Regions from separate parts of the Homo sapiens genome. Here all the other regions are linked to region 1. The links are contacts of gene promoters, found by promoter capture Hi-C in blood cells and fetal thymus (Javierre and others, 2016). All regions are on one chromosome and are shown on one strand. The core of a region is centred on a gene start or on the middle of the fragment in contact, and the rest is flanking DNA. Distances in the headings are between cores, read along the strand shown. Region 1 holds the start of RILPL1 (Rab interacting lysosomal protein like 1). Region 2 overlaps SBNO1 (strawberry notch homolog 1). Region 3 overlaps SBNO1 (strawberry notch homolog 1).

Region 1 (4,288 bases), core at 370-2,869:
CCACCATGTCTGGCTAATTTTTGTATTTTTAGTAGAGGCGTGGTTTCACCATGTTGGCCAGGCTGGTCTCGAACTCCTGAGCTCTAGAAATTTTCCCACCTCGGCCTCCCAAAGTGCTGGGATTACAGGCGTGAGCCACCCCGCCTGGCCTTAATTTTTTTTTTTTTACTATTTATTTATTTATTTATTGTATTATATTATTATTTTGAGATGGAGTCTTGCTCTGTCACCCAGCCTGCAGTGCAGTGGCGCGATTTCGGCTTGCTGCAACCTCCGCCTCCCGGGTTTAAGCAACTCTCTGCCTCAGCCTCCTGAGTAGCTGGGATTACAGGCATGCGCCACCATGCCCGGCTAATTTTTGTATTTTTAGTAGAGACGGGGTTTCACCACCTTGGCTAGGCTGGTCTTGAACTCCTGACCTCGTCCACCTCAGTCTCCCAAAGTGCTGGGATTACAGGCGTGAGCCACCGCGCCCGGCCAACTTTTAGATTTTTAATCAATACGTGCCACGTTGGGGTGCGCTTTATGGCTACAAGGGCATTAAGATTTCTTCCCTCAAGGAGCCAAGATCTGACGGTGGAAACCTACCTGCAACCACACGGTGAAAACTCAGGATGCTAAGAGCAATCCTGATGGGGCAAGCAGGGGACTGTGAGTTTGCAAGGGGGTCCTTAACTCCTGCGTGGGGGGCGGGGAGGGTGGATGGGGTTCTGGGTTCAGGAAACGTTCTCCCGGGAGTGGGAGGGGGTCTGATGGACAAGTGGATTTGGCCAGCCCAAATGGACAGGGGGCCTTGGGACAAGAGAACTCGTGGTGCTGGAATGCCAAGCGGGCTTCGCTCTACTGTGAAGTGGCGTTCATGTCACAAGGAGCCAGTGATGGATGTGGCTCGGGGAGGCGCGCCCTGGGGCTCCGGGGATCCAGCATTCCTCGACACGTCGGCCCCTCTCCGGGCGCCTCTGCAAGTCCGCCTGGTGGCCGGGTCTGCGCGGAGTGTCTGCGGGCCGGGGGGGGTCCCCGTTCTCTTCCTGGGATGAGCCCCAGCCCGGGGACCTCCTCGTGACCCCTCCATCCCTCTCCAAGGCCGGGGCCGCTACCCGGAGCAGCGAATCGTCCCGCGAGACCAGCGCCCCCGGCCCCCTCTCCCGGGGCGGCCTGGACCCCTCCCGGCGGCCGGGTGGTGGGAGGAGTCAGCGCCGGGCGGGGGAGGGGCGGCCGGGGCACGGGTGAGGGGCGCCGCGGGTCCGGCGGCTGGAGAGGGGGGCCCGGAGTGCAGGCCGCGGAGTCGGCGCTTGGGGGGGTACCCCGGGGCGCCCCCGGGCGGCGGAAAGCGGGCGCGCCCCTGGCCAGGCCGGGATTGGGGCGGGGCGCGCGGCCTCCCTGTGGGGAAGCGATCACCCGGCCTCGCAGCCGCCGCCGCCAAAGTTTCCCGGAGGAGCCGCGGGCCGCCCTTCCTCTCCGGCCCCGCGCTCTGCCGCCCCTCAGGCCCGCACCGCCCCGAGGCGCCCGGCCCGGCTCCATTGAGCGCAACTCGGATCCCAACTTGGGAGGCGCCGCGGGCCTGCGCACGCGCGCGCCCTCCCCGCTGCCGCCGCCGCCGCCGCCGCCGCCGCCGCCCACTCGGGAGCAGCTCCGGGCCGAGCCGGGCGCCCAGACCCCGGGCCCGCACACCCCGCGCCGCCGCCCGTGCCCGCGCCCGCGCCCGCCGCCCGCTGCCCGCTGCGCCCTCGCCCCAGCGCCCGCTGAGCGCGCCCGCCCGCGGCCCAGGCTGGGCCCGGCCGGCCCGGCCCTCGACAGCGGCAAGTTTGGGAGTTGCACGAGTTTGCGGGGCGGGGGACAGGCCAGGAGGGTGGCCATGGAGGAGGAGCGGGGGTCGGCGCTGGCGGCCGAGTCGGCGCTGGAGAAGAACGTGGCCGAGCTGACCGTCATGGACGTGTACGACATCGCGTCGCTTGTGGGCCACGAGTTCGAGCGGGTCATTGACCAGCACGGCTGCGAGGCCATCGCGCGCCTCATGCCCAAGGTCGTGCGCGTCCTGGAGATCCTGGAGGTGCTGGTCAGCCGCCACCACGTCGCGCCCGAGCTGGACGAGCTGCGCCTGGAGCTGGACCGCCTGCGCCTGGAGAGGATGGACCGCATCGAGAAGGAGCGCAAGCACCAGAAGGTGGGCGGCGGCCTCGGTCTGTCCGTCCGGGCAGTGGGACCGCGGGGACCCAAGGGCTCTTCCGCATTGGGCAGCTGTGGGTGCGCACGTGTGTGTGTTCAGGGACCGGACCAGAGGAGACCCGACGTGGGGAGGGAGGGAGGCCCTGGCCTTCTTTTGCCCGACCAGGGGTGGCTGGCAGATACCACCCGAGAGATTAAGAGCTGTTCTCTGGAGTTCCAATCCCACCTTTACCGTTTAATAGCTGTGTGACTTTAGGTAAGTTACTTAACCTCTCTGTGCTTTATTTCCTCACCTGTCAAATGGTAATCATAATAGGACCCACCTTAGAAGAATTAAATGGGACCATATAAGCTAAGTGCTTAGACATATTATTCTCTTCCAGACATGAAATAAGCCTCTTGGCCTCCCGAGTTACCAAGAAGATGTGACATCAGGCCCAGGACCCTTTCTTCATCCCCCCCCCCCCCAGTCTCCCCAGAGCAAAGGGAATGTGACCTCCAGCCACTGAGCTTCGTGACCCCTAGTCTTCGGGTTCATATTTGCAACTTTCTTCCCGGGACTCCCCTAGCTTATGAACCTGTGGTAGCCCGTGTTCTCTCCTCTGATTTTATCCTTAATCCTCACAGGACTCTATAGAGACTATCTTCATTTTACAGATAAAGAAACCGAGGGTCACAGTGGGAGGAGCAATTTGTCCCAAATTAGTGGTGAGAGAGTCCCAGCCCCCGTGTCTCCTCCCCACCCTGTTTGAATTGGGGGAAAGGGATGATTTGGGGTGGCTTTAAGGCTAAGCCTCTGCCCTGTGATCAGGAGTCTCTCTGAATCAGGGCCTCCCCACTGGGCCTGGAGTTCAGACGAGGTTTCTGGAGAAAAGGAAGTGAAAGACATGTGGTTTCCTGCCCTAACCTCAGCCAGGGATGCTCTTGGCAGCCCCTTCAGACTGAGAATGGGAGGAAACACCTTTCCTTGAGGGATCAGGGTGCCTGAGCAGTCTCCAGCTTGCTGTTCAGCCTCAGGAAATACAGATGGCCTCTCTGAACCTCAGGGGCAGGCCATCCCTTATTGTGTACTTTGATGGATCTCTGTGTTTTGGAGTAAAATAGCCAAAGCTGGGTCTGAACCCTTTACCTGAGGGCAGACCCACAGGTAGGTAACAGCACCATTGCCATGTTTGACTGTGCTCGTCCTCATGGGTCCCTATGCCCTAGGGGCAGGAAGGAAACTCAGGCTCCCAAGAGTTGAGCAGCATTTCCGAGGTCACTCTGGGAGCCTGAAAATGCTTTGACCTGTAATTAATTTCAAGACTCCTAGAAGCTAGGACTTTGGAGCTAGACAGCCTGGTTTCAAACCCTACCACTTGCAGGCTGTGTGATCTTGGGCAAATCACCCAGCATCTCTGTGCTTCAGTTTCCTCAGTTCTAAAATGGGATAGTAATAGTACCCCCATTAGAATGTGATGAGGTTTAAAGAGTTAATATAAATACATATAAAGTGTTCAGGACAGAGCCTGCCCATAGCAAGGGCTTTGCAAGTCTTAAAATTCTTTTTAGGCCTGGAGAGACATTCATTGAGGTGCTCACAGGCTCATATTAGGAAACCGTCCCCACCCCAAGCACCTCTACTCCTACCCTAGAGGCCTCCATCTCTCATAGAGGGTCAAGGAGGCAAGGGACCTTGGAAATTCTCTCGTGTGGCGCCTCTTATTAACAGGGACCAAGGGGCTTTGACCAGATCACACAGAAGTCCTGGCACCTATACTGTCCCCCAACTGGGGCTCTTTAGTTCTGTTGCGGGGGAGCTGGGAGAAATCCTTGGAAGCCATCGGAGGCCACCAGGTCTGAAGTCACATGGAATTGTCAGCAGCTGCACTTGTTGCCTCTGGAAAGTGTTCAGCTGGGAAGTGAACACCGTGCGCTCAGGGCCAGGGCTTGTTGACTTACATTGAGGATGACCTCTCTAAATCAAGGATGCAATTCTTTTCCCACCCCAGCCCCAGACCCGTTTACTTCACATTCTTGGGATGGAGAGAGACTTGTATGATTTTTTTTTTTTTTTCCTGCAGAGTCTCAAAGGCTCTTCAAGGTGATATTTCCACAAAAATGTTTTTGGCATGTCCTGGTT
Region 2 (4,472 bases), core at 765-3,264, 200 kb after region 1:
ATTATCATCAATTTTATGATGATTTTAAAAAACTATAGGTAGGAGAATAAAGGATGGAGGGAGAAAGGAGGCTGCTTATCTTAACATAGAATACATTTTTATTTTATAAGCGAGGACAGGGTTAGACGGTGGGGGTGGAGAGGACCCAGAATTTAGGTAATTTGCCTAAATTAAAAAACAGACTACACAATTAAATAACAGCAGAATTGGGATTCAAATCTATTCATTTGGCCAGTCCTGTTTTGTCTCGAATTTCCGAAATTGAGTTTTATTTTAGCATAATTTCTGAGAACATTCCAAGTTTTTAGATTTTATCTAAAGACTCCATAGGTTAATGTTGATTGGATGGTTATGTCCCACTTCTTTTCCTTTTCACGTTTGTTATCTATTTGCAACCATATTCTGCTCTAGATTCTGAGGTAAATGAAAAAAGAGCCTGTCCTTCACTTTTAATGCTGTCTCGATCTTGCCTTAATTTGCCTTAACCTGTAGGTTTTTGTTGTCCTCTTCCCTTGGCATACTGAGTTTCACAACAGTTTCTTTATATTCTTCCCTGAACAAGTGCATGCTAATAAACAGTTGCCTAATGATTGTACTGGTAGTGAAAAGTGGCTTATTCCGGATCTTCCTTTATTCCTTTAAGATCCTGTAGAGGAAGAAAAGGGAAGCATAACCGTGGTGACCATTCACTTGGTTTGCCGAGGACAGTCTGGGTTTACTTCTGTTTTCTCAGTGTAATCCTCAATAGCTCCCCAACTCAAATGTGCCAGGGTTTGGAAAATAAATTATATGGCCATCTTATATATGATCACGATTGCATCTGTGGAGACACAGAAGTCTGAAGTAAATTTTTCTGTTCTTCATAAGGGCCTCTAAAATAAACTCCAGTCTTCTGGGGTTTTGGTTTTAGGATATGCGGGAAAGCAGGCAAATAGAAGTGAACTGAGAAGAAGGTGGAATGTGAGACTGAGAGGCCTTGCTTGTGGTGATGCAGGGTCCTTTGGGGCCAATCCACCTTTGCTAGGGTTCACTCCAGTTTTGCACTAGGAAGAGCCAGACACACTGCTTGCTCTTTCTCCTGGAACTAGAATGAAGGCGAAGTCTGAGTGCAGAGAGAGTTCTGGGCATCAAGGAGGGGTGATAGGCAGTATTGAAGGGGAAAGTAGCTTGACACGATGGTGGCCGGAAGGACGTGGAGTCTTGTGACCCATTTGTGGGTAAGAGACAGAGTAGGACCTCATTGTCTGTGCTCATTATTGGAGAAGCAGGAAAGCCACGAAGTGTGGCCCAGATTTTAGGGAGTATTGAGGTGGCGCGTCATGTTTCCATGATGGAAATTTGTAGGTGTTCCTACAAGAGAGTTTTTCTGTGTGTTGGCTGGGCGTCTGGTCCCTGGATTTGGGATTGATTGTGCTCTTTCTGTGTTGCAGAAGGTTCCTGTTGTAAAAGAAGATGATGAACCAGAGGAAGAAGATGAAGAAGAAATGGGTCATGCAGAAACCTATGCAGAATACATGCCAATAAAATGTATGTCTTCGGGATTTGTCAGATATTTACATCAAAGTTTTCCTGTGGTTTCTTTGGTTCTTTTTGTTTTGTTTTTTTCCATATAAATTTAGAATCTTGCTTTAGGTCAAAGTCTTTTAAAACCAAAACTAAAGAAGCTTGGATTTTATTTTAATTTTGTTCATAGGAGTAGTGATTATAAAAATCAAAGGTAATTGTAAAGATATATAAAGCTAAGATATTTAATACAACTTGTCTAAAATTGTAAAAACATTGAAATTATAAAAATAATTGTGCTATTTGAATTCCATAGTTTTTGTTTCTCCCTTTTGTATAACATGGTTCTTTTTTTAGCAGCCACTGTATGAAGTCGAAAATTAGGTTTTTAATATTTGCATAAAATTTTCACTTTTTCATTACAGGAAACAAATCTATGTCTAGAATTTGTCTTTCATGTAGTCTTGGTTTCTATAAAAAACCACTAATAATACCATTTGAATTGAACTACAATTCTCTTTTTATCAACTACTGATAGACTCAAGATTCCATCCTTTTCTGCTCACCTACAATGAATTTTAGAAGTCCTATCTGAAATTCTGTTTTTCTTATTCCAATAATCATTTTGCAAAAGGATTGAAAGAGTTTATGGCCCTTTAAACCAGAGGACAGCAAACTAAATCTGGACCACTCGCTTTTTTATAGTAAATAAGGTTTTATTGGAACATAGACATGTTTATTGGTTTACTTATTATCTATGGCTGCGTTGACACTACAGCAGCAATGTTAAGTAGTTGTACAAGAGACAGGATGGCCTAAAACGGCAAAATCATTCTCTGACCCTTTACAGAAAAAGCTTCCAGATCATTATTTTAATGTATTCATGTTGTACATTTTGGGGACTTGGTTGTTAAATTTTATAGCCAAGTTGTCTTTCGAATACTTTTCAAAGTAAAATATGTTCTTTTTAAGACGGGGTCTGGCTCTTTACTCAGTCTGGAGTGCAGTGGCATGCTCTTGCCTCACTGCAACCTCCACCTCCCAGGATCCCTCCTGGATTCTAGCAATTCTCGTGCTTCAGCCTCTTGAGTAGCTAGGATTACAGGTGTGCACCATCATGCCTGGCTGATTTTTGTATTTTTAGTAGAGATGGGGTTTCACCGTGTTGGCCAGGCTGGTCTCGAATGCCTGACCTCAGGAGATCCACCCACCTTGGCCTCCCAGCTGCTGAGATTACAGGCGTGAGCCACCATGCCCAGCCAGGCAGTGGCGCAATCTTAGCTCACTGCAGCCTTAGCCTACAAGGCTCAAGCAATCCTCCTGTCTCAGACTCCTGAATAGCTCGGACCACAGGTCCCACCACCATGCCCAGCTAATTTTTGGATTTTAATTGTAGAGATGAGGGTCTCACTATATTGCCAAGGCTGGTCTTGAACTCTTGGCCTCAAATGATACTCCTGCTTTGGCCTCCCAAAGTGCTGAGATTACAAGCATGAACCTTCATGCCTAGCCTCAAAATAAAATTGTATTGCAAACTTTTGTTTTACTGAATGAATGCTTGAAGTAACTGAACTCCTTAATCTGGCATTATGTTCTGTTACTACTAGAGAACCTGCTGTTATGAACCAAGTGGTGTTTTTTTAGATCTTTTTTTTATCAGCAAATCTCTATTTTATTTTATTTATTATTTAATTTTATTTATTTATTTTTTGAGACAGAGTCTCACTGCATCACTCAGGCTGGAGTGCAGTGGCACAGTCTCGGCTCCCTGCAACCTCCGTCTCCTGGGTTCAAGCAATTCTCGTTCCTCAGCCTCCTGAGTAGCTGGAATTACAGGCGCGTGCCAACATGCCCAGCTAATTTTTGTATTTTTAGTAGAGACAGGGATTTGCTGTGTTGGCCAGGCTGGTCTTGAACGCCTGACCTCAAGTGATCCCTCCACCTTGGCCCCCCAAAGTGCTGGGATTACAGGCGTGAGCCACCCACCTGGCCCAAATCTCTGTTTTAACCATATGTAGTTGATAAATCATTTTAGTCAAATATAGATAGTACTTTGTCATCAGTTACTTTTTATGGAAGCTCAGAGTGAATACTTTTTAATTATTTTTCTATGTTATAAGAAAAACATTGAAATATCTTATAATGAAACTGGAAATGTTATTACTTAGAATAATTAAAATAAAATGTTTTTACATTTTTGTTTAGTAAAAATTGGCCTACGTCATCCAGATGCTGTAGTGGAAACCAGCTCTTTATCCAGTGTTACTCCTCCTGATGTTTGGTACAAAACATCCATTTCTGAGGAAACCATTGATAATGGCTGGTTATCAGCATTGCAGCTTGAGGCAATTACATATGCAGCCCAGGTAAGCAATAATATTTCATAATACAATAATTATTTTATCCTATTCTATATAACAGAGTTGTTTCAATCTAAAGGTAACTTTTCCTTGTATGAAAACCTTGTAAATGTAATATTTATGAAAGTTTAATGTGTTGGAAAATTAAATTTTAGAAGTGTAGCAGAGATACAGATAGTGCATTTCCAGTGGAAATGGCAAATGTTATAACTTGCTTGGAATTTACTGGGAATATTTATTAAAATTAAAAATATGTATATCGACCAGGCACAGTGGCTCATGTCTGCAATCCCAACAGTTTGGGAGGCTGAGGTGGGTGGATTGCTTGAGCCCAGGAGTTCGCGACCAGTCTGGGTAACATGGTGAAACATCATGTCTACGAAAAATACAAAAAATTAGCTGAGTGTAGTGGCACGCACCTGTAGTCCCAGTTTCTCGGGAAGCTGAGGTAGGGGAATCACCTCAGCCCAGGAAGTCGAGGCTGCAATAAGCTGTGATCTTGTCACTCCACCCTGGGTGATGGGAACGAGACCCTGTCTCAAAAAAAAAAAATTATATATATGTATATGTGTGTGTATATATACCCATTCCTAGGAGTGTGTTCCCTGG
Region 3 (4,506 bases), core at 528-3,027, 230 kb after region 1:
GGAATGTCTAAGAAACCAGGGAGATTCCCAAAGTTAATAGCACAGCACATGCAAACTTTTGTTGTTGAGTCTTGGAGCTCTTCCTGCTGTGCCCCCTCACCCCTTGGCTTACAGTGTTCACTTTGTGACCTCGTATACTCTTATACTCTGCAAATCATAGTTTTCTTCTCATTGTTCTCTCCCTCATTAAGTAGTTAATGCTCTTACAGTATCTGGCCCACTTCATGAAAAGGAATATGAGATGTAAATGAATTTTAGCTTGAGGGGCTTTTTGTTTGTTTTGATTGTTTGGGCTGTTCTGCAGGTAGATAAGTTGGCTTTGATGTGAGTAGTGCTTTTGGTTTTCATTATGAGAGTAAATTAGTGCCACTGAAAATTAGAAAAAATCTGTAAGATAAAATGTTTTAAAAGGTAGGCTGGCTAGGCACCATTGGCTTGCTGGTAGTACCAGCACTTTGAGAGGTCGAGATGGATCACATGAGTCCAGGAATTCAAGACCAGCCTGGCCAACATGGTGAAACCACGTCTCTACTAAAAATAAAAAAATTAGCAGGGCATGGTGGCAGACGCCTGTAATCCCAGCTACTTGGGAGGCTGAGGCATGAGAATCGCTTGAGCCTGTGAGGCAAAAGTTGCGGTGAGCTGAGATCGTGGCACTGCACCCCTGTCTGGATGACAGCAAGACGTGGTCTAAAAAAAAAAGTTTTAAAAGTTAACCTACTAACTTGGGTTTTTTTTTTGTTTTTTTTTGTTTTTTTTTTGAGATGGTGTCCTTGCTCTGTCACCCAGGCTGGAGTGCAGTGGCACGATCTCAGCTCACTGCAACCTCCATCTCCCAGGTTCAAGCAGTTCTCCTGCCTCAGCCTCCCGAGTAGCTAGGACTACAGTGCCTGCCACCATGCGCAGCTAATTTTTGTATTTTTAGTAGAGACAGGGTTTTACCATGTTGGCCAAGCTGGTCTCGAACTCCTGACTTTGTGATCTGCCCACCACGGCCTCCCAAAGTGCTGGGATTACAGGCATAAGCCACCGCGCCTTGCCCCTACAAACATTTCTTTTTTTTGAGATGGAGTCTCGCTCTGTCACCCAGGCTGGAGTGCAGTGGTGTGATCTCGGCTCACTGCAAGCTCCACCTCCCAGGTTCACGGCATTCTTCTGCCTCAGCCTCCTGAGTAGCTGGGACTACAGGCACCCGCCAACCACGCCCGGCTAATTTTTTGTATTTTTAGTAGAGACGGGGTTTCACCGTGTTAGCCATGATGGTCTTGATCTCCTGACCTCGTGATCCGCCTGCCTCTGCCTCCCAGAGTGCTGGGATTACAGGCTTGAGCCACTGCGCCTGGCCTAAACATTTTCTAAAACATTTCCTCTGGGGACAGTGCAGTGGCTCCTAGCACTTTGGGAGATCAAGATGAGAGGATTGCTTGAGGCCGGGAGTTTGAGACCAACCTCCTCAACACAGCAAGACTCCATCTCTACAAAAAATTAACTTAAAAAACAACAAACATTTGCTTTGAGTTATAGCAAGAAAAGTGTCCTATATACCTACATTTAACACTGTATTAGATTCGTCTTGAGTTAGTACTAACCAGAAGGGCATCTTTATTGATGAATATTCTGAAGATAATTTTAACCAGAAAACATTGATGGTATTTCTCCTTTTTCTCATTTCTTCTTAAATTTACATGTAGCCTCTCGCTCCCCTCCCACCCCTTTCCATCTCTCTAGATTGCTGAGTCCTTCCCACTAATGTGATTTAGAACCAGTGTATCAGTAGTTTCATAATATAGAAATAACTGGCAGGATCTTCCCCCCTCCTTCTTTTCTTTTCACAGGTATTGCTTGTTTTTTCATGGCAGGATCTCTCAGGATCTTTTTTCTTTTTTAAACAGAGGGCTTGAGTGCAATGGCACCATCTTGGCTCACTGCACCTTCTGCCTCCCAGGTTCAAGCGATTCTCGTGCCTCAACCACCTGAGTAGCTGGGATTACAGGCATGCGCCAACACACTTGGCTTTTTTGTTTTTTTTTTTTTTTTTTGAAGACAGAGTCTTGCTGTGTCGCCCATGCCAGAGTGTAGTGGCCTGATCTTGGCTCACTGCAAGCTCCGCCTCTGAGGTTTACGCCATTCTTCTGCCTCAGCCTCCCGAGTAGCTGGGACTACAGGTGCCCGCCACCACACCCTGCAAATTTTTTGTATTTTTAGTAGAGACGGGGTTTCACCATGTTAGCCAGGATGCTCTGGATCTCCTGACCTCATGATCTGCCTGCTTCGGCCTCCCAAAGTGCTGAGATTACAGGCGTGAGCCATCGTGCCCAGCCAGTTTTTTGTTTTGTTTTGTTTCGTTTTTTTTGAGACAGAGTCTCACTCTGTTGCCCAGGCTGGAGTGCAGTGGCACGATCTCGGCTCACTGCAAGCTCCGCCTCCTGGGTTCACGCCATTCTCCTGCCTCAGCTTCCCGAGTAGCTGGGACTACAGGTGCCTGCCACCACTCCTGGCTAATTTTTTGTATTTTTAATAGAGACAGGGTTTCACCGTGTTAGCCAGGATGGTCTCAGTCTCCTGACTTTGTGATCAGCCGGCCTTGTCCTCCCAAAGTGCTGGGATTACAGGCGTGAGCCACCGCACCCAGCCCATACCTGGCTAATTTTTGTATTTTCAGTAGAAATGAGGTTTCTCCACGTTGGCCAGGCTGATCTCAAACTCCTGGTCTCAAGCTGTCTGCATGCCTCAGCCTCCCAAAGTGCTGGGGTTACAGGCATGAGCCACCATACCTAATTATTTTAAACTTTTTGTAGAGATAGAGCCTCGCCATGTTGCACAGGCTGGTCTCAAACTCCTGAACTCGAACAATACTCCCTCCTCAGCCTCCCAAAGAGCTGTGATTACAGGCATGAGCCACCCTGCCCGGCTAGCAAGATCATTTTATAAAGTAGCAATATTGCAGTAAAATAATGGATATTAAAATGACTAAAATGCTTCAACAGATAGCAAACACAATAAATTCAACCCTTTTTATTGGGAGGCAGGCCCCTGAAAAAATCGTGGTTTTAAAAATCAGCCTGATACCTTAAATTGGAAATGCTAACCCAATGGGCCAACAGAATTATAATCTAAGAAATAGTAAAGGCAAATACTGCTGAAACATTGTTTATTTGAAATTTGAGGCCAAGAGCGGTGGCTCACGCCTGTAATCCCGGCCCTTTGGGAAGCCAAGGGTGGATCACCTGAGGTCAGGAGTTTAAGACCAGCCTGCCCAACATGGCAAAACACCGTCTCTACTAAAAATACAAAACAACAACAACAACAAAAAAAAGTCCCAGTTACTCGGGAGGCTGAGGCAGGAGAATCACTTGACCCTGGGAGGCAGAGGTTGCAATGAGCCGAGATCGCACCACTGCGCTCCAGTCTGGGCAACAAGAGCAAAACTCCATCTCAACAAAAAAAAAAGAAAAGAAAAGAAATTTGAGTTGACCTTGTAAATCTTTTAGAAACGTGTCTGTGTGCATATATAGACACTCATATGTATTTCTTTCCCATTTTTCTTAGGCGCGGCAATTGCAAAAAAGCAAGCTTGGGGCTAGTTTGTGAAATAGGTCTTCGTTGCCGTACATATTATGTATTATGTGGTTCAGTGCTGAGTGTCTGGACAAAAGTTGAGGGTGTTCTAGCATCTGTCAGTGGCACAAACGTGAAGATGCAGATCGTGCGGCTAAGAACGGAAGATGGGCAACGGATTGTAGGTGAGTCTAATTTTTGTTTTGGTTTGAGTTGCAGGAAAAAATCGGATCCGACTTTTTTCTCATTGCTAATATCTTAGCTTTATTCCACATGCATCTAACATCTCTTCCAGTAGTGGGTATGGGACCCGTTTTATATTTCTTACAAGGTTGAACAGAAGTTAAGCCTTCAAACAGACATTGTTGGTTCTGGTTGAAGTTATGATGTGGTCATCTCTTTGATGCTGCTCTCAGCTGCTCTTGCTCTCCTTCTCTACTCTTGGTGGCTGTGCAGGCTCCCTGGTGTGTAGACAGTTCAGCCTCTTGCCCAGGAGTTCTCCATTGAGCTAACTTAAGACTCTGGAATTCAAAAGCCACTGTGCACAGAGAATGGCTTGGTGTCCTGCAGGGAGCAAGGGTAGACTAGGCCAGCTATTCTCACCGTGTGCTCAACTACAGGTGTCCAGGAAGCAGGGCAGCAACTGGACTCTGTTTGCTTATCTTGGTTTCGCTTACAGCAGCCTTCCTCTACCACGGATTGCATATCGGGAGTTCATGGGCCAAAGTCAGTCTATGGAATTTTTTTTTTTTTTTTTTTTTTGGACACCAGTATTTTGGGATGTTGTAGGTTTTCATTTGAATTAATGAATTTTTTTTTTTTTTTTTTTTTTTGAGACTGAGTCTCACTGTGTCGCCCAGGCTGGAGTGCAGTGGCGTGCTCCCGGCTCACTGCAACCTCCGCCTCCCGAGTAGCTGGGATTACAGGCATGCACCACCACACCTGGCT

What was found. Contacts are between HindIII fragments. The CHiCAGO score rates a contact against its expected background, and 5 or more counts as called.
Region 2: a contact is called between a fragment that was not itself captured here and the fragment with the promoter of RILPL1 in region 1, in 1 of 17 cell types (endothelial precursors). The highest score is 5.3, in endothelial precursors.
Region 3: a fragment that was not itself captured here is called in contact with the fragment with the promoter of RILPL1 in region 1 in 1 of 17 cell types (endothelial precursors); the score reaches 5.1 in endothelial precursors.

Annotation. Positions count from the first base shown.
Region 1 is chr12:123,531,050-123,535,337 of GRCh38, reverse strand. It overlaps RILPL1 (Rab interacting lysosomal protein like 1), which reads left to right and starts at 1,619. Exons shown (of 7, transcript NM_178314.5): 1 at 1,619-2,164. The coding sequence starts at 1,856. RefSeq lists silencers at 691-876, 896-1,585 and an enhancer at 1,801-2,618. The HindIII fragment of the contact is 17,367 bases long and covers 1-4,288 here.
Region 2 is chr12:123,333,450-123,337,921 of GRCh38, reverse strand. It overlaps SBNO1 (strawberry notch homolog 1), which reads left to right. Exons shown (of 32, transcript NM_001167856.3): 6 at 1,431-1,527; 7 at 3,709-3,869. Among named protein-coding and RNA genes, the nearest start is that of MIR8072, 29 kb to the left of the region's middle. RefSeq lists a silencer at 2,558-2,607. The HindIII fragment of the contact is 695 bases long and covers 1,667-2,361 here.
Region 3 is chr12:123,297,215-123,301,720 of GRCh38, reverse strand. SBNO1 (strawberry notch homolog 1) reads left to right here. Exons shown (of 32, transcript NM_001167856.3): 31 at 3,550-3,743. Among named protein-coding and RNA genes, the nearest start is that of CDK2AP1, 28 kb to the right of the region's middle. The HindIII fragment of the contact is 3,596 bases long and covers 1-3,575 here.